Linked DNA regions of Homo sapiens: region 2 is linked to region 1. Evidence: promoter capture Hi-C in human tissues and cell types (Jung and others, 2019). All regions are on one chromosome and are shown on one strand. The core of a region is centred on a gene start or on the middle of the fragment in contact, and the rest is flanking DNA. Distances in the headings are between cores, read along the strand shown. Region 1 holds the start of SCNN1G (sodium channel epithelial 1 subunit gamma). Region 2 overlaps USP31 (ubiquitin specific peptidase 31).

The links. The method cuts DNA at HindIII sites, captures the fragments that hold promoters and counts their contacts. A contact is called where the count stands out against the background at its distance.
Region 2: a contact is called between a fragment that was not itself captured here and the fragment with the promoter of SCNN1G in region 1, in 2 of the 25 tissues and cell types used here (IMR-90 fibroblasts and aorta).

What each region holds. Positions count from the first base shown.
Region 1 is chr16:23,181,483-23,184,182 of GRCh38, reverse strand. SCNN1G (sodium channel epithelial 1 subunit gamma) reads right to left here and starts at 1,438. Exons shown (of 13, transcript NM_001039.4): 1 at 1,370-1,438. RefSeq lists a silencer at 1,467-1,716. The HindIII fragment of the contact is 8,387 bases long and covers 99-2,700 here.
Region 2 is chr16:23,073,393-23,076,165 of GRCh38, reverse strand. It overlaps USP31 (ubiquitin specific peptidase 31), which reads left to right. Exons shown (of 16, transcript NM_020718.4): 14 at 2,286-2,444. Among named protein-coding and RNA genes, the nearest start is that of USP31, 75 kb to the left of the region's middle. The HindIII fragment of the contact is 7,379 bases long and covers 1-2,773 here.

The DNA.
Region 1 (2,700 bases), core at 189-2,688:
GAACTGATCTTGCTCTTTGCAAAACAGATAAAATATTCATATAAATAATATTTCAACTTCAAAGCAAAACAAGACTGTAGCTACCATTAGATTATGCAGCCTGAGCCAATGTGATACCCTTGGTGGAAGAATTACTAGCTGATACCCAGCACTTACTCTTCTAAGTACTTTGCAGCTGTCACCTCATTTAATTTTCACGATAATCGTCTGAGGTAGGTATCACAACCACCTCCATTGTACAAATGAAACAGACGCTGACAGGTTAAGTAGCTTGCCCAAGGTCACACTAGAAAGTGGCTGAGCTGGGATTTGCACCTAGGAGTCCCTTTAACGACTAACTAGGCTGCTCTTCAATCATTAATAATAATAACAGCAGCAGGGAAAGCAGCAATAATGGCAGCTATCACTTATTGATCCCTTTCTGTACTCCCAGGCATCCCACTCAGTCCTTTTCACACACTACCTGATTTAATCCTCACTACAGTTATATGAGGTGCTATTACTTGGCCCATTTCACAGAGAAGGAAACTGAGGCACAGAGGTTAGGTAATTTGCCCAAGACCACACAGGTAGAAAGGATTTGAAGGATTCTTTAGAATTCCAGGGCCCTGGCTCATCGCAGCGGCTCCGTGCACCCCCTCCTCACCTACCACCGACTTTGCCTGTCCCCCATCCCACAGTGCAGGACCCCAAAGCTTGGAGAGGGATGAGAGATTTGCCCCAAGTCTAGCGTTGGGTTCGCTGGACCGGAGAGTTCCCGATCAGTGCCCGTCCCGAAGGGCGAGTCCTGTGCAGAAATCACTTGAACTCAACCTCAGGGCCCTGACCCGAGCTCCTGCCGAGCGACCCCGCAGCCCTGCCCTCCCTGCGCGGAGCGAGCGGGCGCTGTCCTGTGGCGGAAGCCACGTCTGCCCCGGGGGAGCGCCGGCTGAAGGCGCTGGAGCGAATCCAACCAGCCCACTTCAAGTGTTTGCTTCTTTCTGCACCAAGTCACCCCGGAGAAAGCATTCCAGAGGGTAGAAGGAACAGTAGCGGACAGGTCCACGCGACTCACCCCGGCAGGGAAGGGGGCTGAACAGGCGCTGGGCGGAGAAAAGAGGCCAGGTGTGGCCCGGGACCCCCAGACCCCCGGACTCTGAGTGGCTCTCGACTGGCTTCGTGCTCCGGGCCACGGCGTGGGTAGACCCGGGAGAGCTGGCCGCTACCGCCCGGGCAAGGTGTCCCAGCATCCCGGGCACCGGGAAGCCGCCACCGGCTGATGCTGGCTCGGCCACCCACCGCGCTGACGGCGTCCGACGCCCTGGCGCCCGGCATCCGCTCCAGTGCCCAGAACCCCCGAGCTGGTCCGACCCAACCCGGCTGAACTCACCTTTCGGTTCCAAAGGGTCCAAGGCTCGTGCGGGTGCGCTGCTCCTCTGCTCGCTCTCGGGCTAGCATCCCCTGGCAGCGCCACCGCGGGCTCTTGTGGGCCGGCCAGGCCCCGCCCCCTAGGGACCCGCCTCCCCAGGCCCCGCCCCCACCTGCCCAGGTGCTTTCCCCAGGCCGCCAGGCACCTGAGACCGCCCGGAGCGGGCCACGACTTCACAACGCCCCCTGGCGCCCCGAAGCCGCCCTGCGCCCCAGCCCGGCCGCGCTGCGTCTTCCTGGGCCACCGCGCAGTGCCTGCTGCCGCCCCGAGGCCGCCCTGCCATCCTGCATTCCCGCTGGGTCTCTGCGGCACTTACCCCAAGGCGCCTCAAAGCGCCTGCTGCCCCCTATTACTGCCCCGCGACTTCCTTCCACTCCCGTCCAGATGGCAGGTGCCTGCCCTAGCACCAGCAGTAATCCCACGCAGCCTCGCTCCTCGGACTCCCTCCAGACCTGCAGCTTCAGTGCCCACCAGCGTCCGGCTGTAGGCAGCAGGGGCTGTTCAGCCAGGCCACTCATCCTTTGACCTTTTCAGCTGCTTCTTTCTCTTTCTTTCGTTATTTCCTCCTTCCTTCTTCTTTCTTTTCCTCTTTCCTTCTTTTTTTTTTTTTTTGACGGAGTCTCGCTCTGTCGCCCAGTCTGGAGTGCAATGACGCTATCTCAGCTCACTACAACCTCCGCCTCCCGGGTTCAAGCAATTCTCCTGCCTCAGCCTCCCAAGTAGCTGGGGTTACAGGCGCGCGCCACCATGCCCGGATTAATTTTTGTGTTTTTAGTAGAGACGCGGTTTCACCATGTTGGCCAGGCTGGTCTCAAACTACTGACCTCAGGTGATCCACGCGTCTTGGCCTCCCAAAGTGCTGGGATTACAGGTGTGAGCCACCGCGCCTGGCCTGTCCTTCTTTCTCTTTCTCTCTTTCTTTCCTTTCTTTCCTCCTTCCTTCCTTGCCTGCCTGCCTGCCTTCCCGCCCGCCCACCTTCCTTCCTTCCTTCCTTCCTTCCTTCCTTCCTTCCTTCCTTCCTTCCTTCCTTTCTCTTTCTTGCTTGCTTGCCTTCCTTCCTTCCTTCCTCCCTCTTTCTTCTTTCTCTCTCTCCCTTCCTTCCTTCCTCCCTCCCTCCCTCCTTTTTCTTTCTTCCTTTCTTTCTTTCTTTCTTTCTTTTTCTTTCTTTCTTTCCTCTATTTCTCTCTTTCTTTTTTTAACAGGGTCTGCCTCTGTCACCTTGGCTGGAGTGCAGTGCTGCAATCATAGCTCACTGTAGCTGCCAACTACTGGGCTCAAGCGAGCCTCCCAC
Region 2 (2,773 bases), core at 246-2,745, 110 kb after region 1:
CATTAAGCTATTCTTCCTGATGCTCTCTCACCCCTCATCCCCATTTTTAAGTTTTCATTTGGAATGTTTATTTTATGTTTTGAGACAGGGTCTCACTTTGTCACCCAGGCTGGAGTGCAGTGTGTGATCGTGGCTCACTGCAGCCCCAGCCTCCCGGGCTCAAGATCCTCCTACCTCAGCTTCCCAAGTAGCTGGGACTACAGGTGTGCGCCACCACACTTGCCTAATTTTTAAATTTTTTTGTAGAGTCAGGGCCTATACTATGTTGTCCAGACTGGTCTCGAACTCCATATCTCAAGCAGTCCTCTGCCTCAGCCTCACAAAGTGTTGGGATTGTAGGCATAAGCCACCATGGCCGGCCTGGAATGTTTATTTTGATGTAATCTTTATTTTGCACTGTTTCTAGCTATAATCGATGGTATAATGATATAATCGATTGTGTAAGGATTCTAGAACAGTGCCTCTCACACCATCTGTGATGAAGAACTTGGTTTTTTCTACTTTAAAATTTCCAATCCTTTATCAACTAGTGCATTTGTAAGAATACAATAAAAATATCACGGCAGTATCAGATTGCTATAAAAGTTTTTTAAATGCTTTTCTCCTTTTTGGTGCTTCTCTCGTGTGGGCTCGTGTCAGTCCGTGAGCCATAATTCTAGTAGCACTGGCCTAGAGAATACTTCAGAAAGTAGTTCTAGGAAGAAAAGCAAGTAGAATTATTTTGTAATTAATGAGTTTGCTGTGCTGTCTCAGTTTCCACACTGTGACTGAGAAGAGGCCATTCTGAAGAGGAGCAGGCTGAAAGGAGGCAAGGCTGTTCTGTCTCCTTCTCTTGGGCATGTCCCTCACAGCTCTGCTCCCACTCACCACTCCAGAAGAGCAGCTACTCCCCAGCTGGGTCATGTGTGCATCAAGCCTGACCTGACGCCACTGGCCAATTGCTGTTTCCTTAGAGCTCCATTTGCTGCTTACATTTTAAGTTCTTTCCCTTCTGGTTCCGGCAAGTTCTCAGCTGCAAATAACTTCCCTGCCTCCGTTCATAGGTCCTTATTCTGCTCTCATTTTGGGGGACTTGTCTGGTGTAGCCCTTTCTCACCCGCGTCTCTTTTATCCCTTAAGTCTCCATACTTGCGGAAATGGTTATGGCCCATTGAAGGAGTCACTCCTGGTGCCTCTCAGGACCTTATCTGCCCCATCCCTGGGGCCATCCTGAGTCTGTTCCAGCATTCAGCTAAATATTCTAGCACTCGTTTATTCTCACCCCAAATAAATGCATATTTTTAGAAAATGTGATCATAATGTACTTTTCTGGATCAAGCTTATAACACCCTTTGATATATCCTTGCAGGATGACTGGGTTTGTGAACTCTTAAGTTTTCGTCTGTTTTTGCTGCTACTTGAATGTTCTTTATTTCTAGCTCAGGCTTAGAATTTGGACTGAAAGAAGTCCTCCTGCGTTCATGAGCTCATGTGTTCTCAGTCTGCCAGGGAACTTCCATGGAGCCTGGTTTGTGCTCCTCCCTGAGGGAAGCAGGGCAGGATAGGGCTTCAAGTGCAAGCCAAGGACTTGATAAGCCTGAAATGAGCTGGGCTCCTGCCTTTCACCAGCTGCACGACCTTGGGCAAGCAGATTAATCTTTTTCAACCTCTGGAAATTGGGAGTAATAAGAGAACAAATCTGAGGATTAAATGAGATGCTTGGCACATAATAAGTGTTACATATTATATTTATCTGCTATCATATCATTATATTGTTATTTCTATTCATATTATTTGCTATTTCTAATAGACACTAAAATGTTGCAACACACTGAACTCAGGGTTTCTTCACCCTGGCACCATTTTGGTCGGACAGTTTTGTCTTGCAGGGGGCTGTCCTGTGCATTATAGAATGTTTAGCAGCATCCGTGGCCTCTACCCACTAGATGCCAGTAGCACCTCTCCCTTGAGTTGTGACAATCAAAAACATCTCCATTCATTGCCAAATCCCACTCCCCCCGCCACAGACACAGTTCCCTGGTTGAGACCCATTGGTTTAAATAAGTATGTGTTTTCTAAGATGAACTGGAACTGCATCTACTTGGAATGGTTTGGAATTTCTCAAGATATTTTGCTCGAGTGTGATACAGAATTTAGAATTTTTTTTTAATCTCTTTCTGTGTTGCTATACGCAGCCTTAAAACGTTCTTGAGTTAATTAGATGAGCCAAAGAGATGGTGTCTGTGGGTCGCATGAAGTGGCTGGTGCAGCCTCCCCTGGTGCTGATGGCGGGCTCTCTTTGGCAGCGTACTGTAAGAACTCTGTGGACGGCCTCTGGTACTGCTTCGATGACAGCGATGTGCAGCAGCTGTCAGAAGATGAGGTCTGCACGCAGACAGCATACATCCTCTTCTACCAGAGGCGGACAGCCATCCCGTCATGGTCAGCCAACAGCTCGGTGGCAGGTGAGGTCCACTCTTGTTCTTGGGCAGTTTTTTCCAGAGCAAAAGATTGTAATGAATGGTCTAGAGGACCTCTCTGGAGGCTCTCATGACTCTGTCAGTTTGATCAGATGAATCCTTACGTTTCCATTTAATCTGGAAACTAAAATGACTGCAGTCAAGGAAGTTGGGGAGGAATGTGACAGCACCTGTGGCCCAGTGGAGTTCACTGGGGACAGTGGGTTGGACCTGGCGCAAAGAAAGCTCATGATGTGTTCTTGTGGATAAATGCATGGGTGAGCTGAAAAGCAGCGTGGCATACTACCCGCTGTCCTGGGGTTATCCTGGAGCCT